7 separate regions of the Homo sapiens genome follow, and regions 1, 2, 4, 5, 6 and 7 are each linked to region 3. Evidence: promoter capture Hi-C in 16 types of primary human blood cells and fetal thymus (Javierre and others, 2016). All regions are on one chromosome and are shown on one strand. The core of a region is centred on a gene start or on the middle of the fragment in contact, and the rest is flanking DNA. Distances in the headings are between cores, read along the strand shown.

The links. Contacts are between HindIII fragments. The CHiCAGO score rates a contact against its expected background, and 5 or more counts as called.
Region 1: the fragment with the promoter of M1AP here is called in contact with the fragment with the promoter of MRPL19 in region 3 in 2 of 17 cell types (activated CD4 T cells and naive CD4 T cells); the score reaches 6.4 in activated CD4 T cells.
Region 2: a fragment that was not itself captured here is called in contact with the fragment with the promoter of MRPL19 in region 3 in 1 of 17 cell types (M0 macrophages); the score reaches 5.9 in M0 macrophages.
Region 4: the fragment with the promoter of HK2 here is called in contact with the fragment with the promoter of MRPL19 in region 3 in 2 of 17 cell types (naive CD8 T cells and activated CD4 T cells); the score reaches 7.6 in naive CD8 T cells.
Region 5: a fragment that was not itself captured here is called in contact with the fragment with the promoter of MRPL19 in region 3 in 2 of 17 cell types (M1 macrophages and naive CD4 T cells); the score reaches 5.5 in M1 macrophages.
Region 6: a contact is called between a fragment that was not itself captured here and the fragment with the promoter of MRPL19 in region 3, in 3 of 17 cell types (M1 macrophages, M0 macrophages and megakaryocytes). The highest score is 5.2, in M1 macrophages.
Region 7: a contact is called between a fragment that was not itself captured here and the fragment with the promoter of MRPL19 in region 3, in 8 of 17 cell types (non-activated CD4 T cells, naive CD8 T cells, total B cells and 5 more). The highest score is 15.0, in non-activated CD4 T cells.

What each region holds. Positions count from the first base shown.
Region 1 is chr2:74,646,764-74,650,393 of GRCh38, forward strand. M1AP (meiosis 1 associated protein) reads right to left here and starts at 1,567. Exons shown (of 11, transcript NM_001321739.2): 1 at 1,502-1,567. The HindIII fragment of the contact is 10,572 bases long and covers 1-3,630 here.
Region 2 is chr2:74,686,044-74,689,749 of GRCh38, forward strand. It overlaps a transcript of SEMA4F not described here. Among named protein-coding and RNA genes, the nearest start is that of SEMA4F, 34 kb to the left of the region's middle. The HindIII fragment of the contact is 974 bases long and covers 1,168-2,141 here.
Region 3 is chr2:75,644,465-75,648,310 of GRCh38, forward strand. It overlaps MRPL19 (mitochondrial ribosomal protein L19), which reads left to right and starts at 2,319. Exons shown (of 6, transcript NM_014763.4): 1 at 2,319-2,446; 2 at 2,638-2,755. The coding sequence starts at 2,344. RefSeq lists enhancers at 2,119-2,413, 2,249-2,548. The HindIII fragment of the contact is 2,636 bases long and covers 2,131-3,846 here.
Region 4 is chr2:74,832,262-74,836,080 of GRCh38, forward strand. HK2 (hexokinase 2) reads left to right here and starts at 1,866. Exons shown (of 18, transcript NM_000189.5): 1 at 1,866-2,382. The coding sequence starts at 2,320. It overlaps HK2-DT (HK2 divergent transcript), which reads right to left and starts at 1,726. Exons shown (of 1, transcript NR_185897.1): 1 at 394-1,726. RefSeq lists silencers at 1,358-1,427, 1,608-1,837, 2,758-3,007 and enhancers at 2,584-3,460, 3,238-3,307. The HindIII fragment of the contact is 22,379 bases long and covers 1-3,819 here.
Region 5 is chr2:74,706,204-74,709,946 of GRCh38, forward strand. It overlaps a transcript of SEMA4F not described here. Among named protein-coding and RNA genes, the nearest start is that of SEMA4F, 54 kb to the left of the region's middle. The HindIII fragment of the contact is 4,799 bases long and covers 1-3,743 here.
Region 6 is chr2:76,596,441-76,600,373 of GRCh38, forward strand. No RefSeq gene overlaps it. Among named protein-coding and RNA genes, the nearest start is that of LRRTM4-AS1, 390 kb to the right of the region's middle. The HindIII fragment of the contact is 2,178 bases long and covers 737-2,914 here.
Region 7 is chr2:74,849,013-74,852,987 of GRCh38, forward strand. All of the region lies in intron 1 of HK2 (hexokinase 2), which reads left to right. Among named protein-coding and RNA genes, the nearest start is that of HK2, 17 kb to the left of the region's middle. RefSeq lists an enhancer at 944-1,083. The HindIII fragment of the contact is 2,014 bases long and covers 666-2,679 here.

The DNA.
Region 1 (3,630 bases), core at 317-2,816, 1.0 Mb before region 3:
AGTAAGAAAGTTTTAGTGTTTTGACAATTTTTCAAGGTTATAGAACAACTGTAATTTTTCCCATTGGTGTTTAAGATCTCTTTGAATGGTTTCAGCTTGCAGTCATTTTTCAATCCCACACTAATGTGCAATTGGAAGACTGTATTTTAAATGAGGTAAGAGGCAGCTCTCTTCCTTACATCCTCAAACATCATCAATTCATGCATCTGATGTGTCTGGGCATAGTACTAAACAGGCTCTGACCTTATTCTGACCCTATACTCTCCACTTTTGCCAAGAACACTCGCTTAATGAATTCTCCCTGCAAACTGGTTAAAACTGGAACTGGGCCTTGAACCACTCCAAACCACCAAGTTATGCCCAAACTAAAAACCCTCCAAGGACTTCCAATTACACCACTGGAAACAGAATCCAATATCTTTACCCTGGCCCTAAAGTTCTGCTTGTGCCTTCTGCCCAACTCTCCATCCTCACACTAGGCCCTCCCCTGCCCGCACCCCGGGAGATCCACCTCTCACAGATCGGCTTCTCGCTGTGTCTGCCTCTGCGGATGTTCTGTTCCGTGCTGAGCATTCTAGGTTAGGGCCCCTTTACAAGCCCTCATTCACTTTGTCGCGTGATAAACGATTCAATGGTTCTCCCTCTGGCAGGGCCCTATTAAAGATTTCGTGGGCCCTAAGGCACTTTCGTCTTCGTGGACCCCTTCCTCCATTAAAAAAAGATTAAAAGAAGTTAATGGATTTTGTAGGCCCTAAAAATCTCATTTCCCCCTCCTGATGTGAGAAAAAAATCAAAACACTTTCTTTGACTTCATGGGTTCACTTTAAACGAAATGAAAACATTCTCGTGGCCGGGCACGGTGGCTCACGCCTGTAATCGCAGCACTTTAGGAGGCCGAGGCGGGCGGATCACGAGGTCAGGAGTTCGAGAGCAGCCTGGCCAACATAGGGAAACCATGTCTCTACTAAAAATATAAAAAAATTAGCCAGGCGTGGTGGCGGGAGCCTGTAATTCCAGCTTACTCGAGAAGCTGAGGCGGAGAATCACTTGAACCCGGGAGGCGGAGGTTGCAGTGAGCCGAGATCACGCCATTGCACTCCAGCTTGGGCAACAAGGGTGAAACTCCGTCTCAAAAACAAAGCAAAACCAGAAGAAAAAAAATTCTCGTGGCTCCCTGAAGCCTCCGTGGTCCCTCGGCATGGCGCCTACCGTGCCTGGCGGATCAGCAGCCCGGCCCTCGGGCCTGGGGGCCCCGCGGAGGAAGCTCCGGGCCCAGACTCCGCGCAGGCCTGGCCGCCCAGAACAGTATGCGGAGGGATGACTCCGACAGCGATTTCGGAGCCTCTCTCGGCGTCAGTCTTGCGCCGGCACCCGCCACGGCCAGCGCAACCAACACCTGCCTGAGGACTGGCCCGAGCTCGGCCCACGCCCAGCCCAGCCTGCGAAGTGGTGCCGGCTGCTCTCGGGCTGCCCTCCCTCCCCGAGGCGTGGAGAACCGTACCTGTCTTCGGAAGACGGAGGCCCCCTCACCTGGTCCTCCCGGCTCTCAGCGTGCGCCCGCGCGTTCGGAGGCGCCCCCCTCAGGCCGGCGCGGCTGGGCGGGAGGCTCACTGCGGGCAAGGCGGGGCCTGGCTGCCTCAGGGTGCGCTTCAGGTGGCGCTTCAGGAAAACGGTCTCCAAGTCCCTAGATACCCTGAGAACAGTCCTTCTTTGTCCCTTAGGTAGAATTTTGTCTATTTGTTGGAAATGCTGTGCTAAACCTGACATTTTTCTTTTTCTACCCCTTCCCATGAAACATGCCAGTAGCTCCCCCACCGACCGTTTTCTTGGTTTTAACTTTTCCCTTCCACATCATTTCCTTCAGCCAGTCGCTATTTTGTTCACTAAACATCTGTGGTGGGCACGTTATGTGCCACGCATTGTGCTAGGATTGGAGTACAGTGGATGTACAGACAATGGTCACTGCCCTCATGGAAGTTATAGCTGCCTTCACAAAGTTCTTTTAAGTCTTTTCAAACTCCTGTATTCCAAGAGGGTCTGTCGCTCTCTTCATACTCATTCTCGCTTACTTGAGGTTGATTCCCATAGTCCCTTTGACGAACTCCAGATGGGGTAGGAGCGTCCTGGTCCTTAACAGTTGGTTGGTCTGGGTCTTCAACTCTGGTTAAAAAGGAATTCTCTGAATTAGTCCACAGGAGAGGGAAAGATAATGCTAGTTCCAAGCTAGAAATGTACAAGCAGTTTTCCTTGTTTTCTTTATTATTATTATTGTTATTTTCTCAGTTCATTGTCTAGATGCAGGTTGGAGGTGGGGTGGGGCAATATTTCAATGAGTGGCACAGGATAGGTTAGATGTTTCAACAGGAAAAGAGTTGCCTGCTTGTATTCTAGTCCCACTAAACCATTTTGCTCCTATCAACTGTTCCTCAGGTAAGAACAGAACTATTTAACCTATGTCCTTTTTTAAACACTATAATCTGATATTCAATAGAGTTCCTGTGTTTCAGTTTAAAGGGTAGCTTCTCAACAGCTCTTTCCCCCCATATAGTCCAAATTAGCCTTTCTGTCTCTAATCTCCAGATTATCGTTTCCACTGATGTTAGAATTGTCCTTGTAAAAATATTTTGATCATATCATTCTTTGTCTTAAAAATGGCTTATGTTTCCTTTTCGGTTAGAGGGTCCATTATAACTGACCCCACCTACCTTACTAGGCTCAACCCCAGCATTACCTGTCTTACTCCCCTTTGTGTTGCTATACCAGAATACCACAGAACAACTAACTTGTAAATAAAGGAAATGTATTCTTAAATTCTGGAGGGTAGGAATTCCAAGGTTGAGAATCCCACATCTAGTGAGGGCATTTTTTCTGTGTCATCCCATGGCAGAAGGCAGAAGGGCAAGGGGTACAAAAGAGCAAGACAGCAATAGGGAGCTGAACTCACTTTTACAACAAACCCACTCTCTCAATAACTAACTCATTTCCAAGATAATGACATTAATTCATTTATGGGGGCAGAGCCCTTATGGCCTAATCACCTCTTGTTAGGCCCCACCTCTGAACACTATTCCATTGGGTACTAAGTTTCCAGCAAATGAACTTTGGGGGACGCATTCAAACTTGAGCACTAGCCTCACTCCAAACCATACCACCCATTGCTCCTACCTACTATTAATTTCTTTCCGTACCCTCTATAGCATTTATTAAAAATATGCAAAGAACTGTACCAGAAATGGGGACTATGACATAAGAATTGTTTTCTGAGGGTGATAAACTATAATGGTCATGAGAAAGCACCTTGCAGACTTTAAACTACAAGGAGTGTAACTGACCAAGGGCATCAGCTGCTGCCTTAGAAATCTACTGCCACGACTGGGCTCCGTGGTTCACGCCTGTAATCCCAGCACTTTGGGAGGCCGAGGCGGGTGGATCACCTGAGGTCAGGAGTTCGAGACCAGCCTGACCAACATGGAGAAACCCCATCTCTACTAAAAATCCAAAATTAGCCGGGCATGGTGGTGCATGCCTGTAATCCCAGCTACTCGGAAGGCTGAGGCAGGAGAAACACTTGAACCCGGGAGGCAGAGGTTGCGGTGAGCCAAGATTGCACCACTGCATTCCAGCCTGGGC
Region 2 (3,706 bases), core at 405-2,904, 960 kb before region 3:
AAAAAGTCAGGAAACAACAGATGCTGGAGAGGATGTGGAGAAATAGGAATGCTTTTTTTTTCTTTTTTTTTTTTGAGACAGAGTCTTGCTGTGTCACCCAGGCAGGAGTGCAGTGGCGTGATCTCAGCTCACTGCAAACTCTGCCTTCCGGGTTCACACCATTCTCCTGGCTTAGCCTCCCGAGTAGCTGGGACTACAGGCGCCTACCACCACGCCCGGCTAATTTTTTGTATTTTTAGTAGAGACGGGGTTTCACCGTGTTAGTCAGGATGGTCTCAATCTCCTGACCTCGTGATCTGCCCGCCTCGGCCTCCCAAAGTGCTGGGATTACAGGCGTGAGCCACCATGCCCGGCCAAGAAATAGGAACACTTTTACAGTGTTAGTGGTAGTGTAAATTAGTTCCACCATTGTGGAGGACAGTGTGGGGATTCCTCAAGGATCTAGAATTAGAAGTACCATTTGACCCAGCCATCCCATTACTGGGTATATACCCAAAGGATTATAAATCATGCTACTATAAAGACACGTGCACACGTATGTTTATTGTGGCACTATTCACAATAGCAAAGACTTGGAACCAACCCAAATGTCCATCAGTGATAGACTGGATTAAGAAAATGTGGCACATATACACCATGGAATACTATGCAGCCGTAAAAAGAATGAATTCATGTCCTTTGCAGAGATCTGGATGAAGCTGGAAACCATCATTCTGAGCAAACTATCACAAGGACAGAAAACCAAACACTGCATGTTCTCACTCATAAATGGGAGTTGAACAATGACAACACATGGACACAGGGCGGGGAACATCACACACTGGGGCCTGTTGGAGGGTGGGGGGCTGAGGGTGGAATAACATTAGGAGAAATACCTAATGTAAAAATGATGAGTTGATGGGTGCAGCAAACCAACATGCACCCTAGAACTTAAAGTATAATTTAAAAAAAAAAGAAGAAAAGAAAACTAAAGATAATGTTGTTCCTTCCAAATGAAAACCTTCCTATCACTTCCCGTTACAATTAGAATGAAATCCAAATCCTCTGTTCTGATTTACAGAGCCTCACATGTTAGGACCTCTGTCCATCTATCTAAACTATTTTTACTTTCCCCTCACTCAGGAGCAACAGCCACACCAACCTTCATTCAGCTTTCTAGATACACCAAGCTTGTTCCCAACTAGGGAGAACTAGTTGTTTCCCCTGATCTTTGCAAGTCCTTCTGGTCAGTCAGGCTTTATCTTAAACATTGCCTCCATAAAGAGGCCCACCCTGATTACTCTGTATAAAGTAGCTCCCAGTTACTTCCTATCACATCCTCCTATTTTAATTCTCAGCATAGCATATCATCAATTTGTATTTTCTTGTTTGCTTAGTTTAATTATTTTCCTTCTTGTTAGATTGCAAACTCCATGAAAGCCTGAACTATGGCTTTTTTGTTCACTGTTGTATCCCCAGTGCTTAGAACAGTGAACAGTGCCTGACACATAGTAGATGCTCAATATTTATTGAGTGAATGAATATGGCCATTGCCGAGCTGACCCACTGGGTAATGGAAAGAACGCAGGTCCTGCTGAGAGGCCAACACCATCCACTGGTCAGTACTCCTGTAGGAGGCCACTTAGCTCCCAGCTCCTGTGGTTCTGCAGTACCAAGTGGCAGCCCCTGGGATCCTCTGCTCATAGACTCATGGTTTTCAAGGGATAGCTTTAGGGTGTCCTTCTCCTAGACCTCAAATGACCTCTCCCTGTCTGTGTTCCGAACTCCATCCTGGACCCTTCTTTGCTTTGGGCCCTAATTTGTGTCTGGTTGTCCACAGGTAGGTCCTCTCTGCTCTTTCTTTCAGAGTGAAAGAATCAAAGTATCCCTGGAAGGCACAACACCACTTTGCAAGCATAAATTCCCTAATCATAGTTGCCCTTAATAATAATAATAATGCCCTAAAATATAATCATCTACTAGATATGATGTGGGCATTGAGCTAAACATTTTTTACATCAAACTCAATCTCAGAAAGACTGGTGGTGTTAGCCACATTGTCGGCCAGTGAAACTGAGGCTCGAAGGAGAAATAACTTGCTCAGGTCATACAGTTAGTTTGTAGCTGAGTTGTGACTAAAACCCAGGTCTCTCGGATTCCAAAGCTTGTGCTCAGAACCCCTGCAGTGTACAAAGTACCCAAATAGTGCCCATTACAGATCAACTTCCGAGAACTGGGTCTTGCCTTCCTAGAGTGGAGTGGTGTTTCCTCCTTCACTCATTGTTCATTTCATATATATAAAACAGAACATGATCATATTTCAATACGTAACTTCTGTACAACCAAAAATTAAAACACCACATTAAAATAAATGAGAAAAACATGGTATTTCATTTGCAATACTTGAAAAAATGTTAACATTCTTAATCATAAATGAGCTTTTAGAAATCAGTAACAGGCTAACATTACAAGGGAAATGAAAATAAAAGAAACAGGAAAATGAAATAATACACATGATTAATAAGGTGATATGAAGATGATGTAGCTTAACATTAATAGATGAAAAAGCAGTTTCTTTGTAATATTACATTATCAATGATCACAAATACAGAAATCTAACATTTGTATAGAATTTTAGGAAATAGGGAACTCTTAAACACTGGGAAAATTTACTCCAGTTTTGGGAAATTTACTCAAAATTTAGATCTTGTATGTACTTTGCCCTGGCAGTTCCAATCTGTAGGAATTATTCCAACGGAGTAGTTGGACAAATTGAATTTTATGTATAAGTATGTTTCTTACATAGAAAATCTATAGCTAATTTATCACCCCCAACTACTTATGTATCAATTGATTTAAAAAAATAGATTGGGGGGTGTTCATTAAATATTAATTTAGGTCTATTTAGGTCAGGTTCTGGGCTAGATTCTGGAGACACAAAAGTGAATAAGACATAGTCCCTGTCCCCTTAAAGCTCATAATTCAAGGATAGGCAGATGAGTAAGCAGACAGCAACACACTTTGAAAGGCGCTATTGTTAAGGTGTGTTCCAAATCTGAGGAACCCAAAGATACCTCATTCTACTGACCTCTCTTCTTAACTAGCAGCTTGAGAAACAGGTTTGGGATGCCAATCAAAGCATTTGTACCACCTAACCAGACTCCCCTGAAGCTACTGAGACAGTCTAATGTAGTGTAGTCTAGTGAGACATATACATGCCTCATTTTGTCTTTTGTGTATATCAAATTTTACATAATAAAACACTTTAAAATAAGATGTTTTTCTGTCTATGGAACCAGAAAAAACAAGAAAAAAAGGTTGGTGACCTTGTGTGCTCCCCAAACAAGGATTTGTGGAGAGTGGGCATTCTATACTATTGTTGGAAATGAAATTAGTACACACTCTATGGAGGGCATTCTGGTAATATCTATTGAAAACTTTAAAGTGTATATATCATTTGATCCAGTAATTACACTTTTAGAAATTTATTTTAAGGAAATAGCAGTATAAGTGTGCAAAGACATACTTCTAAAGATTTTTATTTTTATAATAATTATAAGCCTAAAATGTTGGGAAAAAAATCAATTATTCAACAAGTGAAATTTGGTTAAATAAGCTTCAGTATTGACCTGAAAAAATGTCCACATTGTTAAGCAAAAAAGGAGGAAACAATAAGAAAGAGAAAAGTGTTTCCTGACAGACAGGAGCTGGCCTGGCACTCATAGCC
Region 3 (3,846 bases), core at 1,069-3,568:
CTTCCAATTTTGTAAAACTCTACACAACTATTCCTTCATCTGTGGAAGAGGAGAGGGCAGCAGGAGTGGCTTGGCAATGTCTAGTAAATCCTGCTGTCCTCCTGTGAAGGTCTGTCTTTTATTTCTCTGCCCCTACCTTTAGGACCAATCCCAGCAAGAGTGAAGGCCACGTGTTCTGGGCATGGTTAATACAGAAAAATCTTCACCACTGCCAGTCATGATTATCTTTGCCTCTCCTCCCTTTTACTCTTAAGGGCTTGAAGTCTACTTTTTCGGGTAGGTAGAAGAGCCAAAATATTGCTCATCTGAAATTTTGGTTGTGAGATTCCTTGTCATTTATAGAATAAATTCTTGTTCTAATCAAAGAAGCTAGAGTTAAAATAGAAGGCCCTGTCTTTCTTCACAGCATCTTGAATTCTGTGCTCAAAACATGGCCCTGTTCCTCAGGCTGATGTAACAGCTCATGTTCTTCAGGATGGCAAGTCAGAGTATAGAGGCCAAGCTGCAGAGGTTGGTTGCTTTTATGAGCATTTGACTTCTGTCAAAAGTAAACAGTAAGGCTTTAAACTGGGGAAAGGAAAGAACAGGGTATGCATTTCTGAGCCATCTTTTTTTGGTTGCTGCGTGAAGGACTGGAGGTAACCAGAGGCAAGAAGACTAATGAGAAGGCTGTTGCAGGGATCTCCAGGGATCCTGAAGAGAGAAAATATGTTGACCTAGATTGGAAATATGGATGGGAGGATGAGAAAGTATATGGATTCCTGAGATATTTGACGGTGTCAGGCATAGTTTTTGGAACTTCATCCAGGAGGAGACAGGGAGGAATCAAGAATGGCACTGAGATTTTTGGCTTAGGCAAGAGAGTGGATGCTGAAGCCATTCCTTGAGATAGCCAATACTGGGAAGGAAGTCTGGAGCTGAAAAAGATGAACTCAGTATGGATAGGCTGAATTTGAGGTAGCTTTGGGACATTAATGCAACTGGAATGACTATTATGTAGTTAAATTATCACATTACTCTAAGTGTTCAATCCTTATATAACCACTGCTGAAATAACAAATTCCAAATTTCTTTTTTTGTGTGTGTTTCTTTTTCTGTTTTTTTGAGACGGAGTTTCGCTCTTGTTGCAATGGCGCGATCTCGGCTCACTGCAACCTCTGTCTCCCAGGTTCAAGCGATTCTCCTGCCTTAGCCTCCCAAGTAGCTGGGATTACAGGAGCCTGCCACCACACCTGGATCATTTTTTTTATTTTTGGTAGAAACGGGGTTTCACTATGTTGGCCAGGCTAGTCTCAAACTCCTGACCTCAGGCGATCTGCCCGCCTCGGCCTCCCAAAATGCTGGGGTTAAAGGCGTGAGCCACTGCGCCCGGCTGTGTGTTTGTTTCTTAGAGATACGGTCTCACTATATTGCCCAGGCTGGTTTCCAACTCATGAGCTCAAGGGACCCTCCTGTCTCGGCCTCCCACAGTGCTGGGATTACAGGCATGCCTGGCCACGCCCAGTCATTTTCCAAATTTCTTAACAAGACTTACAATTTACCTTTTCCAGCTTTACTTCTCCCACCTATCCATACCCACAGTTGCCCAGCCCAAATTCATTTGGGTTCCTCAAAGGGTTAATGCTTTGTGTAGTCTCAAGGACTATGGGCCAGCAGTTCTGTCAGGAACTATTCTATTCTCTTTTCTGTGCATTCAGCAAAGAATTAGAAAAATTAGCTGGGCGTGATGGTGCGAGACTGTAGTCTTGGCTACTCGGGAGGCTGAGGTGAGAGGATCTCCTGACATCAGGAGTTGGAGGCTGCAGAGCCATGATCGCGCCACTGCACTCCAGCCTGGGTAACAGAGGAAGACCTTGTCTCAACAAAACAAAAGATGTTAGTGAGGGCCCAGGTAGGTGCTAGGTGCTGGGATAACATGGTGAGCAAAAAGAAGACTTTATCCCTTCCCTTGCCTCATTATAGTATAATGGCAGATTTAAATACTAATCTAATAATTACACAAGAAAGAATTGCAAATGAGATCAGAGCTGCCAATCGAAGGCACCCAGTGGGAAAGACGGCCTACAATGGGATTTTCGCATAGCGAAAGCTTGTCTGAGAAGATAGAGTGGATTCATAGGGGGAGGAAAAAGCTTTCTAGGCTGGGAGAACACCCCTGTGGAGGGGTGTAACTTGGCGCATTACGAGGAACTAGAGAAACGTGCACTTTTCCTAAGACATCAGGAAAGGAGCGAGGAGAGACTTATCCATTTTGTCCCATAGCAGCCGCCATATGGTGGCAGACAGCAACAACCTCGTCGCACTGATTACTGGGAGCTGTAGTCTTGACGTGAGCTAGCTGGCATGGCGGCCTGCATTGCAGCGGGGCACTGGGCTGCAATGGGCCTAGGCCGGAGTTTCCAAGCCGCCAGGACTCTGCTCCCCCCGCCGGCCTCTATCGCCTGCAGTAAGTGGAGCCGGACTTGCGAGCTGGGGCGCGTTAGGGGCCCAGGGTCAGGATGGGGGAGGCGAACCTGGAGATCAGAGGCAACCCCAGCGTTGGTCCCCCGTGGGACGCCGGGTTGGGGGAGATTGCGGGGCTCTGCGGGATCTCAGGGTTGGCACGAGAGTTCTGACCTCCGTCGTCCGCTCCCGCAGGGGTCCACGCGGGGCCTGTCCGGCAGCAGAGCACTGGGCCTTCCGAGCCCGGTGCGTTCCAACCGCCGCCGAAACCGGTCATCGTGGACAAGCACCGCCCCGTGGAACCGGAACGCAGGTGAGGCACTGCCCTGGCGCTAGGCCGGCAACTGGGGTCGGTGCGCGCGTGAGCGCGTTCGCGTTCGAGGTCCCGGCTCTAAGGTGGGGGCTGCACCTCCCCCTGCACGAGCAGGTGTGTAGGATTCAAGAGCCAGCGCACCACACTGTTCTTTCTTTCTCACTTCTCCCCAAGCCAGCATTGAACTTCTTTGCAGTTTTATTGAGTCAGAACTTCAAGTAGGGGTTCCCCATATTTTAAACTCTTTTCTCTGTGGTATTTGTCCTGTACCAGAGTTTTTCTCTGAGGTATATCCTGTTTATACCTGTTTACGTCCAAGAGCTCTTCTTTTCTCTCAAAAGACCCTTAACCCTGGATAGGAATCGATTGGCCAACTTAAAAAATTTGCTATGGTTTAGGTTGGAAGTTTTGGCAGACAAAGCACAGTAAAACTGGCCACTAAATTGTGTCTGAAACTTACTCATCAAAATAGTGTGAATAAAAACTTATATGAATGGTGGTAATCTTGGAGGTACATGTAAATTTAAAGGACTTAAGGTCTGAAAAGAGAGCTATGTAGCAACCTTTTTAAAAAGCCAGTTTTCAGAGGAAAAACCTGATATGATTATAGGCTTTTTGAAAGGGCTGTAGATTATTGATTGGATTACTTCTGGGATTTTTAATTTTTTTATTTTTTAAATTTTTTTTAGACAGAGTCTCTCTCAGTCTCCCAGGCTGGAGTGCAGTGGTGATTTTAGCTCACTGCAGCCTCAAATTTCTGGGCTCAAGTGATCCTCCCGCCTCAGGCTCCAGAGTAGCTGGAACTACTGGTACCACGCCTGGCTTTTTTTTTTCTTTTCTTTTTTTAACATTTAAAATATTCCACGGATTTAAATAGAAGTAAACTTGGAGTTAGAGAACTAAGAGATTCAGAAAATATTTCTTCATAAAACTTTGCTTTTGAGGGTAGAAATGGAATATCTCTTTTAAACAGTGGCATTTAATAGAATTCACTTAAATAGGAATGTAAATTATATGCTCTAGAGAACAATTTGACAGAATTTACTAAGTTTAAGTTGTGTATACCTTCTCACTCAGAAAGCACACAACTT
Region 4 (3,819 bases), core at 616-3,115, 810 kb before region 3:
GAGTGGAGCACTGGTGCTCTTACTGAGAGAGGAAGGTGTGTCCAGATGGAGGATGTGATTAACTGTCCTCAACATCCCTGAGAGAAGGAGTAAGACAAGGGCAGGGAAGAGAAGAGAATGCAAGATTTGGCAACATGTAGGTCATTATGATGACTATGACAAAAGCAGTTTGAGCTCAATTCTGTGTGGAGTATAGGGAAGGAGGGTTGAGGACGTGCATTTAGAAGGGTACATAGTTCTCAAGAAGTTTTGCTGAGCACATCTGTAATCCCAGCTATTTGGGACGCTGAAGTGGGAGGACTGCTTGAGCCCAGGAGTTCAAGACCAGCCTGGGCAACATATCGAGTCCCTGCTTTAAAAAAAAAAAAAAGGAAGTTTTGCTGAGAGGCTAGATGGATTATGATTTTTGTTTATTTTTCCTGTTTATCCATATATTATTTTTCAACAATGAGTATTGATTACTTATATAATAATTTTAAGGCTGTACACATTGCAGACAGCACCCCACTGTTTGAAAAACTCCTCCTCAGTAGAACATGGCAGACCTTCATCTTCCTTCCCTGAACCTTTTCCAACCTTAGGCTTGCCATTCTCCACCAGTGCTAATGTCATGTCTCTTGAAATCTGTATTGAAGTCAGTATTTCATTCTTGCCAGTTTCCACTGTGTGTTTAAATTTGGAGTCTGGTGTCTAGCATTAGCTGGGGTTGGAGCTTCCACTCCTCTCAGCATTGGTAAGCCTCCTCACCCACCCCATCCCATGTCCAAGATCACCCAGTTACACACTTACCATCTACCCAGTTCATTCACATCATCAGTCCCAGAGCTGCAGAGATGCTCTTTTTCTACCTCCTACTTCTCTGGCTCTTAGAGAGGCAGCATGGGATAATGGGGCAAGCGAATAGGGCCTTAAAGTAGAGGGACAAGGGTTCTCTTCCCTATCTGCCACTTATTAGCTATGTGACCTCGTGTAAGTCTCTTTTCTTTTTGAGACAGGGTCTCCCTCTGTCACCTAGGCTGGAGTACAGTGGTATGATCATAGCTCACTGCAGCCTCGAACTCCTGGGCTCAAGCTATCCTTCCACCTTAGCCTTCTGAGCAGCAGGGACTACAGGCACATGCCACCATGTCCGGCTGATTTATTTATTTTTATTTGGGAAGATGGGGGTCTCACTATGTCGCCCAGGCTGGTCATGAACTCCTGGTCTCAAGCAACCCTCCAACCTTGGACTCCCAAAGTGCTGGGATTACAGGTGTGAGCCCTGGCCTTGCCTCAATTTCCTCATCTGTAAAACGGGGTTAGTGAAACTCACATCCTATCAGTGGTTTTGAGGATGGGCCGACTCTTGTATTGCCTGCTCTAGTACAATCAGCAGCTAAGGCGGCTCACTTTCCGGCCGTGCTACAATAGGTAAGAACTAGGATGCTTTAGACGTGTGACTGGGCAGTGGGAGCCCCTCACATGATCCCGAGATGCCAGACAGTGTCTCTCCGCACAGGGCGTGTGCTGGTCCAGAGGCCCGTTTTTCCAGTCGCCCCACACCCCGGGTCCGCGATCACGCTCCCCCCACCCATAGCCGAGCCTGACGCGGCGGTGGCTCATGCGCCTTTCCGTCCCAGCCTTTAGCCACGGACCACACGTCCCATCTCAGGCGCCCCGCCCCTCCCCCGCCCCCCGCCCCCGGCGCGCCTCCCCAGGCTGCCGGCTCCGGTGTCTGAGCGGCCGCGCCCGCGAGCCGTGAGCGATGATTGGCTGCGCCACGGCGGCGGGCGGTCCGTGGGCGCACACACCCTCCCCGCGCAGCCAATGGGCGTGCGCACGTCACTGATCCGGAGGCCCGCGGGCCGGCAGCCCCTCAATAAGCCACATTGTTGCATGAAACTCCGGCGCAGGAGTCCCGGGCTGCCGCTGGCAACATCGTGTCACCCAGCTAAGAAAATCCGCGGGCCCGAGCCACGCGCCTGTGAATCGGAGAGGTCCCACTGCCCGAGTGGAGCCGGGCTGAGATTCTTCTCAAGTTGAGCCTCAGTGATCCTGTGGCCGAAGTTAGCGCCTTGACGTGGGACAACCGGACACGTCGCCAGGAGAGAACTGAGGCGCCTTCTAGCAGTTGTGACGCCAAAATCACGTCTCCGGAGACCCGCGCCCTCCGCCAGCCGGGCGCACCCTCGCCGGTAGCCTTCTTTGTGCGCCGTCCGGACTCCCAGCTCCCGGCCCGGCAGCCGAGCCCCAGCACAAAGCAGTCGGACCGCGCCGCCCGCCTCCCCTCTCGCGTCTCCGCCTCGGTTTCCCAACTCTGCGCCGTCGGGCCGCGGCAGGATGATTGCCTCGCATCTGCTTGCCTACTTCTTCACGGAGCTCAACCATGACCAAGTGCAGAAGGTAAGTCAGCGCGGGCGGGGCGGCAGGCTGGGCTCTGGCAAAGTGGTCTGGCCTCCATCAGTCTCTTCCTCGACCCTGCGGGGACCCGCTTCCTCCCTACTCCGGGCCTGGGAGCGGAAAAAGTTTGGGCAGCCGGGACACTCCTGGGCGCCAGGAGCCACGTCCGCTAAGCACAGCCGGCGAGTGCGCGCGGGCGGGGAGCCGAGGTCGCGCTCCGCCGGGCGCCCTCCCTCCCTGAGCTCCGGCACGCGCTCACGCTCTCTCCCCCAGTCCCTTTTTCCCTGTTACTGGAGGGGCGGGTCACCCCGCAGGTAGTCAGGGATTGCTGCGCCCACGTGGGAGGGAGCCCCCTTCTGCAGCGCGAGTTCCGGCGAGAGCACGTGGAGAGAATCGTGGCTGCGGGAGGCTGCTCCGCTGCCGCGTGGGGCCGCCGGGGGCCGTCCGCGCTCGCGGACCGCGTGTAGGAGACGAGCGGTTCCCTTCTCCTTCCCCGCGGCCCTGCGGGGGTGGGCTCGAGGAGAAGCTGACCCGGGAAGGAGTAGGAAAGGGGCAGAGGAACTCCGCCCGCCGCGCCCCCTCCCCGGAACTGTGGCGCCCGGAACTGAGGCTCGGCGAGGGGCGTCCCCCATTAACCCCCGCCCCTCCAAATCAGCCTCGGGACCGCCCAGCCTCGTGTCCTCAGGATCTGCCTCTGAGTAAGGGGAGGACTTTGGTTGTTACTTTCTGGTTTGCCCTAAAAGTTACTCGGAGAGGCCAACGCGCCGCGTTCCTGGATTACTTGAGATTCTTGAGATTTATGTCCTTCCGAAAACGAGCTTTTTTTTCCTTAAGCCTCGACCTGTCTGTTCCCACCTGGCTCCGCAGCTCCCTATGGCTGAGCGCTCACCGCGGCCGGGTCATTTACATAAGAAAGAGCCTCAGGCCAAGCCGGGAAGCTCTCATTCCCCGCCTCGGGGTATGGGGGTGGGGATGGGGCCGGGGCCGGGGACGGGCAGGGCCAGGGGCGCGCTCAGAATTGAGTTTCTGAAATGCCCGGGATTAGGGGATTGGCTCCTGGCCCGGGCCTGGGCTACGATTTGAGGTAGGGGACAAGTTGGGAGGGGATTAGCTGGAGGGAGGTTGTTTTAAGAGCTGTGAGGCAACGGAGCGTTGCTCAGTTACATACTTGGAATTTCAATATCTGATGGGAACACATTTTTGGGAAAATGTCTTGCCATTACCGTTCTGTGCGACAACCTGCTCATATTCCCATTCTGGCGGTCCCGAGGGCATAGGAGGCATATTAATGTAGTGATGGCGCGTGAACCTCCAAGAAAAGCAGAAGTTACCCAGCCTCAAGTCTGGAGGAGCGAGCAGAGGCGGTTGATTTACTTGGGTTTTACTGTTTGTAAATGGCTGTTATTCTCTAATTCCTGGGATGTGGCTCTGCACCTTGAT
Region 5 (3,743 bases), core at 280-2,779, 940 kb before region 3:
TTTCCAGTTTACAGATAAGGGAACTGAGGCTCATAGAAGATTAGAAACTAGCCTAAGATTGTACATTCAGTGGGATTTGAAACCAGATCTGACGCCAAAGAACTTATCGATATTCATACAGGTTTAAAATTTTTCCATGACACCACAGGAGCTTGCAGTATTAGAGGGGCTCAGAACCCACAAACCCAAAGACTTCAGGTCCAGGCAGACCCAGATCAGTGGCTCATGAGTGAGACAAACATAGGGTCATGGAGATGCATAGAGGGGAGATCTGGCTGCATAATCAGGGAGTGAGATCTGATGTGAACTTGATGTCAGATTTCAGGAATCAGCAATTGAGGCTAGAGCTTTTCCCGAAGGCCAAAGAATGTGGGTGCAGTGGCAAGGAGGAAGAGTAGGGACAGATGGGTTGTCTGGAGTAGACGTGGGGAAGTTTCTGACACAGGCAGTACTGGACAAGGTTGTCTGCACGAGGTTTGTTGATTCATATTTCACGGTTAATCTCTTTGCATTTATTTATTTTATAGCATTACCACTTTTGTGTCATTGATTTTCACTTCTGAGTTTGCCTATTTGTTTGAAATCTCTTCATCTCATTTCTATTAGTTTTTATACTCCATTGAGCACTTCTCAGTGAGTGAGCATTTTCACTTCACACTCATCAAAGAGCCAAATGAGGAGAGGAGACACCCTAACTGCAGGGATTAGGTAGTAGGCTTCAGAGGCAGTGACCAAGCAGGATCCCTGGTAGGCCACTCCCTCTCCTCTGCTACCTGGAAGCAGAACAAGGCTGGATCTCACCCTTCTGCTACCTGCATTTAACTAACTAGGAAGTCATATGGGTTATATTTTAAAATATATTTTAAAAATATGTATCTGACAAATGCATTTCATGATCCTAGATTGGATTCTGGGTTGGAAAAAATTACTATAAAGTACATTGGCAAAATTTGAATGTAGGCTATATATTGTATAATAGTTTGTTATCAATGCTAAATTTTCCAAATTTGTTAATTATACTGTAGTTATATAAAAAGATCCTTGTTCTTAAAAGACAGATGCTGAAGTATTTGGGGTTAAGGAGCATGATGTCAGCAACCTATTCTTAAATGGCTAGGCAAAACCAATAATAATGTGTGCATGTGTGCAGATTATCTATTTATCTATCTATCCATCTATCCAACTATCTAGAGAGAAATAAAACAAATGAGGCAAAATATTAACGACTGGTAAATCTAGGTTAAAGGTATGTAAATGTTCATTGTATTCTTGCAGCTTTTATGAAAGTTTTTTTTTTTTTTAAAAAGGTTAACAATTTCTCTTGAAGACTTCTGCTTCTGGCCAAAGTGGAGTAATAGGTTCAGATTTGCCCTCTTGCCTGAAACAATAACAACAACAACAACAAACACAATAAAGATATATGAAGGAATGGTTTTCAAGACATGGACATCAGGTGACAAATGACAGTGATTCCTGGGAGTTGAGGAGAGTTTTACAATTGCTCCAGCTTACAGCCCTGAAGAAGTTCCTAGGGCACAGTTCAGGAAGGTGGAACCCAGATGGAGCCTGGAAAATGCTCTGAGTTGAGGAAACAGAGATAAGAGTATGGGGAGACCAAAGCAACTAGAGTTTGCAGGATAGATGATGGAGAGGAGAGAGGTGCACAGAGAGAGCCCAGGAGATCCTCAGGGGTCTCCTCAAGATCGGTTCAACTAAGTACCAATCAGCACATGTGTGTGAGGAAACCATCTGCGAGGATTAGAAGCAGCGCTGCTCAGTGCTCACTCAGGGCTGAGAACAGTGCCAGTTCCCACCTGCCAGATTGGAAAGTCCCATGATTCCTGGGGCACTCAGTAGTTTGTACAGAAGGTCCTTGCCTCAGAAGTGGGCAATAAATAACCCTAGACTGAGCACTTCTCAGCACCCTTGAAAAAAAAAATCATAAAATCAAAACCTGAGGATCCAACTGTTTCCAAGTAGTTTAACTTATCCCAGAGCAAAGTTCAAAAATATATATAGGAATCCAAAAATATTTAACACCCAGCAAAGTACATTTACAATGTCTAGTATCTAAGCAAAAATTACCAGGTATGAGAAGAAGTAGAAAAATATGACCCATATTAAAAAGGAGCCTAGGCTTTTCCCCTCACTCAGCTGTGATGAGGCACCCCAACCCTTCCTTGCTGGGGTGATGTGCCCTGTAATGACCTTCTCCTCAGTGATTATGTCAGTGAAGGCCATGTGGGGACCTGGAACTCTCACCCTCACCAGCTGTAATGAGACACTCTACCCCAGTGGAGTGTCCACAGAGGCCAAGTGAGGACTGTGGACTTACACAACCACCTGGCAATTATGAAGCAGCAGTCCCCTTTCCTGACTGGCACAGTGTCAGACAGGGCCTGCTAAAACAGAAAATTTAAATAAGATATAATGTCTTATATAATTCCCCCAAAGCCCAGGAATTAATAGAAAATCACTCATCATGTCAAGAACCAGGAAAATCTCAACTTGAATGAGAAAAGACAACAAATGCCAATGTTGAGATGACACAGATGTTGACAAAAATTTTAAAGAAACCATTATAAAAATGCTTCAATGAGTAGTTATAAACATGCTTAAAACAAATTTAAAAATAGAATGTCTCAGCAGGAAAACACAAGACATAAAGAGGAGCCAAATAGGCTGGGTGCGGTGGTTCACCCCATTAATACCAGCACTTTGGGGTGCTGAGGTAAGAGGATCGCTTGAGCCCAGGAGTTTGAGACCAGCCTGGGAAACATGACAAATTCCTGTCTCTACAAAAAACACAAAAAGAGCTGGTGTGGTGGTGCGTGCCTATAGTCCCAGCTAACTCAGGAGGATGAGGTGGGAGGTTGGCTTGAGTCCAGATGGCAGAGGTTGCGGTGAGCTGTGATTGCATAATTCAAGAAGCTAATGAACCTCAAACAGAATAAACTGAAAAGAAATCCATGACAAAGCACATCATAATCAAACTTCTGTAAAACTAAGACAAGACAGAATGAGAGAAATGACACCTTGCACAGAGAGGGAAAATAATTTGAATGACAGAAATTTTTCATCAGAAACTGTGGAGGCCAGAGGGAGGCATCACACATTTTTCAAGTCCTGAATGAAAAGAACTGTCAGCCCAGAATCCTAATTCAGTGAAAATGTCATTCAGGAATAAAAGGGAGATTGCCTAGCTATATTAAAACATTATAATTTAGCCTAATGTAATTTTCTAGGCAGTTTCAGTCAGTTTTTTGCTACTCTCTGATGTTCAAGATAGAAAAAGTTATTTTACAAGCAAGCTGAATACAAAATAATGGAAATAGTTTGTAAAACCAGTATATATTATATGCCTATATTGCACATGTTAAAGCACTCCATTATAATACAGTATGTAATCTACTGTTTTTGAACGGTTTTGTTCAGCATTTGGCTATTTAAAAAATATTTATAAAGAGATTTATTTCTTTCAGTTCTGGAGGCAGGAAAGTCCAAGGTTGAGGGGTTCACATCTGGTGAGGGCCTTCTTGCTGTGTCATCCCATGGCAGAAGGTGGAAAGGTAAGAGGGCATGTGTGTATATGTGTGACGGGGTGGAAAAGAGCGAGAAGGAGAAAAAGAGAGAGAGAAGTAAGAAGATCAAAATCACCCTTTTATCAGGAACCCTGTTTTATCTGGGAAACATAACAGCATTAATCCGTTCATGAAGGCAGAGGCCTCATGACCAAACCACCT
Region 6 (3,933 bases), core at 576-3,075, 950 kb after region 3:
ACCTGTTAGAATGGCTATTGCAAAAAAAAAAAAAAGTGTTGGAGAGGATGTGGATAAAAGGGAACTCTAGTACACTGTTAGTGGGAATATAAATTGGTACAGCCATTATGGTAAACAGCATGGACATTCCTCAAAAAATTAAAAATAGAACTATCATGATTTAGCAATTTCATCTCTGGCCTTTTACCAGGGTAACTGCGCATTGAGGAAAGGGAAATGATCAGACATTTCACGGACTACTGGACACTGGCTCTGAGCTGATGTTGATTCCAGGGGACCCAAAACGTCATTGTGGTCCTCCAGTTAAAGCAGAGGATTATGGAAGTCAGGTCATTAATGGAGTTTTAGCTCAGGTCCAACTTACAGTGGGTCCTGTGGGTCCCCAGACTCATCCTGTCATTTCCCCAGTGCCAGAATGCATAATTAGCATGGACATACTGAGCAGCTGAAAGACCCCCACACTGGCTCCCTGACTGGTAGGGTAAGGATCATTATGGTGGGAAAGGCTAAATGGAAGCCATAGTAAATAGTAAATCTATTTAAAAAAATATATATTTTATACATATATAATAAAATAAAACAATGTAGAATCCCTGGAGGGACTGCGAGATTAGTGCCACCATCAACGACTTGAAGGATGCAGGGGTGGTGATTCCCACCACATCCTCATTCAACTCTCCCATTTAGCCTGTGCAGAAGACAGATGGATCTTGGGGAATGACAGTGGATTATCATAAGCTTAACCATGTAGTGATTCCTATTGCAGCTGCTGTACCAGATGTGGTTTCATTGCATGAGCAAATTGACACATCTCCTGATACCTGGTATCTAGCCATTCACTTGGCAAATGGCTTTTTCTCCATTGCTGTCCATAAGGCCCACAGAAGCAATTTGCCTTCAGTTGGCAAGGCCAGCAATATATCTTTGCTTTCCTACCTCAGTGGTATATCAACTCTCTGGCTTTGTGTCATAATCTTATTTGGAGAGAACTTGATCGCTTTTTGCTTCCACCAGATATCACACTGGTTGGTTACATTGATGACATTATGCTGATTGGATCCAGTGAGCAAGAAGTAGCAGACACACTGGACTTATTGGTGAGATATTTGTGTGCCAGAGTATAGGAAATTAATCAGACTAAAATTCAGGGACCTTCTACCTTAGTAAAATGTCTAGGGGTCCAGTGGTGTGGGGCTTGTCGAGATAGTCCTTCTAAGGTGAAGGATAAGTTGCTGCATTTGCTCCCTCCTACAACCAAGAAAGAGGCACAGCACCCAGTGGCCCTGTTTGGATTTTGGAGGCAACACATTCCTCATTTGGGTGTGTTACTCCGGCCCGTTTATCTAGTGACCCAAAAGGCTGCCAGTTTCGAATGTGATCCAGAACAGGAGAAGGCTCTGCAACAGGTCCAGGCTGCTGTTCAAGCTGCTCTGCAACTTGGGCCATATGACCCAGCAGATGCAATAGTGCTTGTGGTGTCAGTGGCAGGAGGATTTTAATAATCAAGTGGATAGAATGACCCATTCTGTGGACACCACTCAGCCTCTTTCCCCAGCCACCCCTGTCATCACCCAATGAGCCTATGAACAAAGTGGCCATCATGGCAGGGATTCAGGTTATATCTGGGCCTAGCAACATGACTTCCACTCACTAAGGCTGACCTGGCTACAGGTACTGCTGAGTGCCCAATTTGCCAGCAGCAGAGACCAACAATGAGCCTTCGATATGGCACCATTCCTCAGGGCGATCAGCCAGCTACCTGGTGGAAGGTTGATTATATTGGACCTCTTCCATCAAGGAAAGGGCAGAGGTTTGTCCTCACTGGAATAGACACTTACTCTGGATATGGGTTTGCCTGTCCTGCATGCAATGCTTCTGCCAAGACTACCATCCATGAACTCACGGAATGCCTTATTCACCATCATGGTATTCCACACAGCATTGCCTCTGACCAAGGCACTCACTTTATGGCCTTCATGACTAATTCATATTTCTAAAGGAAAGTGAAGAATGACTGATACCACTTTCAATTTTATCCATTATCTATTTTAGCTTCTGATAATGTTCAGATTAATCACCTCATTGCTGTATTCTGCATTTTGCATGATTGAGATTTCACATTAAGAAGGCCAAAGGACTCTAGTTCTGTGAATATTAATGACTAGGTTGGCTTGTTAAATTATTTTTGCCAAGTTACCTTTGGCTTTTAATAACCATTAACAGTAGAAACAGTGGTCATATACTTTTCAGATAGAGTTTTCTGTAACCTTCTCCTGGGGAATAAGAGTAACTGAGAAAAACTATCATATGGGATGAGAAGAACTTTTTGAAAGCAAAGGAAGAAGGTCATATTGTCTACTTCAGTTCAAAAACAAAATTTTCAGCCCAAGTATCCTTAATGGCAGAGAGGAGTTAAACATAGACTGGAGGAACTGAGAACGGAAGCCCAAAGCTGATTTTTCCAAGATTTAATTGGCTTTATTTTTTCTGTGAAAGTTGTAAAACAATCCTGAGGTAAATTTACAAAATTCAAAAAGCACACATGCACAATTAGTGGCCCACAACTAACAGATCCATATATATTATCCTAATCTTGTTTCTGCATGTAAGTACATATTTTTAATTAATTAATTCATTCATTATTAAGAGCTACCTCTGTTCAATCTAGATCAGCAGCTCTCAACCAGGGCACCTTTGCCTTCATAGGACATTTGCAAATATCTGGATAAGTTTTTGCCTACTGATACCTAGTGTGTAGAGGCCGGGGATAGTACAGAACATCCTACAATAACAAGACATCCTCTCACATCAAAAAATTATCCATCCCCAAATGTCACTAGTGCTGATGTGTAGAAACTTTAATGTAGATGCTAGGAATTCAGTGGTTTATAAAACAAAGTTGCTGCTTTTATGAAGCTTTTCTCTGTTTGAGTAGTAAACAAATACGTAAAATGGAGGCAAAACATGGGACTTATGGGAACTACAAGATGAAATTTGCATCGGGACACAGAGCCAAACCATATCAGACAGCTGAATTAGAAGCTGGGATTCAATATTGTGATTATTCAGGTCAGTTTTTTTTTTTTTTTTTGCCACCAAATCTAGAGTTTTTATTTTCCTGTTCTATTGTTCAAGAAATACCCCAGAGGGCTGTCCAACTACTTCATTAGTAAAGACACCATGATCAACTAGCAACTGCCAAATAACTCTCCAGGCCAAAGCACTCTGATTACTGCTATGTGCCTGCTTCCCTTTCCAGTAGACATACCCCTCTTGTATTTTGTGGTTAAGCCTGGCCTCTGCTACTCCTGGATTTCATCAACTCCATTGAAATCAGGGAACCCTTCTCAGTGGTAGGAATCTTAGGATCATACCTGACTTACTAAAAGTACACAATTTGAGGTGCTTAGGAAGCTCTTGGCCGCTAGTTGCTGCTAGACACAGTGCAGTGCAGGAGCCTGGCCAGAGCAACACATCAAAACCAGAAAGTAAGTTGTCCTCTTCAAGTGTCCCTCTAGCGCCATCTACTGATAGTTTACATTGTCCTGGCTGTCAAAGAAGGAATATTTACAGGGTCCAAATTCTTCATCATAGAAAAGACAACTTGAAGCTAAGGGGCAATAAATTGATAACTAGCATACCTTCTACTGTAAAAGTTTAACCATGACCATTTGGAGGCTTAAATGGAAGCTTCAAAGCCTTGGGGAACCAGAATTTATTTTTGCTCTGCCCTCATTGAAGATGTCTTAAGAACACAACCAAATACGAGGAAGCAAGATGGAGAAAAAGAAGCAGCATGCTCCTTTCCTTTAAAGTGGTGACTTGGAATCTGTACACGTTGCTTCCACATGTGTACCCATGTCCATAACCTAGTCACAGAGACACAACTAATAGTTACCTGGGAGGCTGCAGTCTTTAGCTGTGCAGCCAGTG
Region 7 (3,975 bases), core at 423-2,922, 800 kb before region 3:
GCCAGGACTGTGTATGGCCCACCCTGCACACTGCATACTTCGAAGTGGAGCCTCCATGAATGTCCCCTTTTGTTCTCTCCATTTGTTGCTTTGTGACAGTGACACAATTTCCTCTCCTTTTTTAAGTGCTGGTCTGGAGGAAAATGCAGGTACTTAAGGGGATGGGTGTTAATGGCTTCCCATTTTGGGTATTATCTTATTTCCTAGAGAGTATGGGGTTAATTTGTCTTTAGGGCTTCCCCTGACACCAACCCCAATTCTGTAGAGGAAGTGGGCATGTCAGACTGGTATGTTATGGGAAAAACTGAAACTGACCAAAATTACCCAATGAGGAAGCTCTGATCTAACCCTTGCTGAAGAAATATCAACTAACAGTGCTATCTCTGTCTAACACGCCCTCGCTTCCTGGGCTGGCAGCTTGGCAGGCAGACGGGAAGGTAACCCGTTCTTCAGCCAGGCTTTGCTCTGGCCTGCCTCCGATTCCCCAGCCTGGAATGCCCCCTCCTCCTTTCCTCCTCTCCCAGATAGAGATTTAAAGAGAAGCAGCCTTGTCCATGCCCATCACAGAAAGAGAAGGAATAGTTTGGGGAAACAGCCTCTGCTTTGTGACTAAGGAGGGTTGAGAAATGTCTGTGATTGCCTGAAGGTGACCCTGGGTGGAGAGAAGCTTTAGAAGAAAGAAGGGGTGGAAGGAAAGGGGGGGTGATAGAGAACTCTTTTGTCCCCACAGTTATGCTAATGACTCTGTCATGTGGGGCTATTCATCCTGTTTTGTGGCAAGGAAGCTGGGGTTCAGATGAAGAGTCCTCTAATGTCGCACACCTGTACGAACGCTACCACTAGGATTTGCATACTGGTGTTTCTGATGCCAGAGCACTCCTTTCACCACCACCAGCTACAAATCAAGGGTTGACCTGAATGAGTCTGCTTTGATAGTATCCAGAAACTTACATCTCTTAAAAACAAATGCAGAGTTTGTCTTCCCAACTCCCAGCAGGCTGGATCAACACAGGATTACTTCACAGGGTCACACCTGGCCTAATATCTTAACCACCGACTCTCAAAGATTCCAGGCAGAAAAGTGATATGCAGTGTTGATCAGAACAGGGCCAACCACGATCACGTTATTGGCATATTGGAAACCTCCCAGAGGAGAGGGGAAGGTGTTTGAGCCCCAGCCTTAGAGGTGTCATTTGGTTAGTCTGGAATGGATCCTTGGAATTCTTACTGTTTTCTTTAAAAGCTCCTCATGTGATTCTGATGTGCAGCAAGTTTGGAAACTCTTATCACAAGTGACAGAATGGAGATTAGGCAGAAGTATCAGAAAGCAGATTTATCTTTGATTGAGGAAACTCTTTGAAACAAGTAGAGCTGTTCAAAAATGGAATTTAGAGAAATAGCGAGCCTCTCAGGCTTGGAAGTATTCAAACCTAGGCCACATGACTATCAATTGGGTGGAGAGAGACAAACTAGATAAATTCGAATACTATGTTTAGTGGGATTTTCGAACTAGTTACCCTAAGGGCCTTTCCTTTCTATGGATGAATACTTTTCAGCTGCAGTCCCACTGCTGTGTGTACATCTGCTATCACCTGCTTGGCTTTCTCCTTTGACTTTGGGCCTGGTGCTCCCTCCCACTGATGGCACTGTGGGTGAAAGTTGGCAAGATTCTGAAAATTGCATTCATCTCCTTCTCAATCCAGGAAAATCATCTTTGTATGGTGGCTGCTTCTTGTTTCTGACTTCTGCTTCCCTTGGCTACCAACACAGCAGTGCCTACCAGGGCTGGGTGGGCTCCACTGGTGTGTTTAGGAAACTGTGGCATTAAGTGATTATTAATTATCCCTTCCTGAGTGGCCCTAATAAGCTGAGTGGACACATCATCATGCCCTGGTGCCATCTGTTCTCAAGTTTTGAGAGTTCAAAGAGCTCTGATGTGAAAGAGGGGAAGTTTGGGCCAAGCTACTGGCCTGGACATTTTTCACTGTTTCATATCCACAGCTGTTTCATATCTTCTCTCTTAGTCTCCTCATGTGATGGAGAGGAAAATAAGGTCCCAGGGTCATCCAAGAAACCACAGGGCAGGCTGGGAGTGCCCATCCACACTAAGAGGGGCCCACAGGACAGGCGAGGGTGGCTGTCCTGACGGCCTGGCAGTGGGGCCAGACAGACCTCTGTGGAATCCCATCTCTGCCCCTCATTACCCAAGTGATCTATAAAACGGAGGTGCAGAAGTTTTACGAAGACAATGGAGAACAGGTCAGGAAAGCCGGAAGTGCCTGACAGGTGAGAAATGCTTGAGGAATGCTTAGCCGCTGTAACCATCACCCCATTACTGTTTTCATCTGTCATTGAACATGTGGAAGATGGTTATCTATGGGGCAAAAGGCAACGTGGATAAAGGGTGACTGTTTAACTCGATTCTTCAAGGGTTGAGGATGAGAAGTGTCTGACTGGATTTCCAACATGTCTTGAAACAGTTTAAACATCGAAGATAAACTAAGATTGGCTGTCGTAGAATTTGCTTTTTTGTGTGCATAACCTCATGCTTCTGGACATGATGATAGGACCATTTAATGAGGTGGAACAGGCTCAGCTCCTCAGTGCAGGAACTCCTGTGCCCTTTGCAAACACCTGAAGCCTTCCATAGAGGGTGGAGGTGGGGCGGGGGCACCAAGAAGCTTCTGGGCCTCTCTTCTCTTTGGGAAAGTAGTGAGGTGAGAGTGTCTTTGTCAGGTGTCACCCTCATGACAATGTTCAGAGACATGTCTGCTGCCCCAGACCTGCTCAGTCACCTCTGTGTGCCTCACTCTCCACTGCGTGCTGTTCATGTCTGCATTGGGAGGTGACTGGAATAGAAGATGGCCTTTTAATGGATATGGACAGCCTGCATTCCCTGCAATGCTGTTTGACCTGTATAGACCCTGCTGTATCCAGGCAGGCAGGGGGCAGTCATCTAGCAGAGTGGACAAGAGCACAGACCAGCCAAACTTCTCTATCAAGCCAAACGTGGCCCCTCGTGTCTGTGTGACTTCCCCTCTCTGTAGAATAGAGATGCTGGCACTTCCTACCTCAGAGGGCTGTTCTAAGGATGAAATGAACTAATGGGAGCAAACCCGGAGAATAGGATCTGGCACAAAGCAGGAGCCACGTGAGGGCTTGCCATTATTACAGTTGCCCATGAGGACATCTCAGGCTTTTCCTGGATGTGGCCTCGCATTGGCTTCTGGTCTGGGTAGCCCCAGACTTTGCACATTAGCCCTGAGATGTGAAAGTTGTAATGTAGCATTCCTGGGCCAGTCAGTGTCTCATTGGATCTGGAGTGGGAAGCCTCCAGGGTGGTCAGAGTTACCCTTGAACTAGGGTCACTGGAGATGGCTAGAGATTTGTCTGACACTTCACTGAAAAGAAAGGGGCCTTGTCTAGTGTCAGGCTGAAGCTGCACCCTTTTTCCTCCTGGGGAGCCTCAAATGTCCTTGTTGGGGAGGCCCAGGCCTCCTCAGGAGCACCTTGGTTCCCAGATATTGTAGGAACCAGAGATCAGAGACCCAGCTTGTGGGATGGAGGGTGGGGGGCTAGTGCCCCACAGCCCTGGAGGTTGTGGTAGATTCCAGGAGTTGGAAACAAGCTGGGCAATATAGCAAGACCCTGTCTCAAAAATAACAATTAAAAGATTAAAAAAAAAAAACAACAAAAAACGAGTGAGAGTTATCTGATGCTTCTCATTCTCCTGGTATTAAATCTGGGAAAAGTTCATGTGAATTTATGTGGGAAACAGGATCAGTGAAAGAACTAGGGAGAGTTGCCTCCGCATGAGCACAGAGGCTGCATTATCATTTACATAGAGCCTCTCCATTGTGCCAGGCACCGTGCCAGCCTCCAGGTATGCAAAGGTGAACAAGCAGACATTGTTCTAGCCTTTGGTACTTATGATTTGGACCCTAATAAATATTTAGTTCCAAATTGTGGATAGTG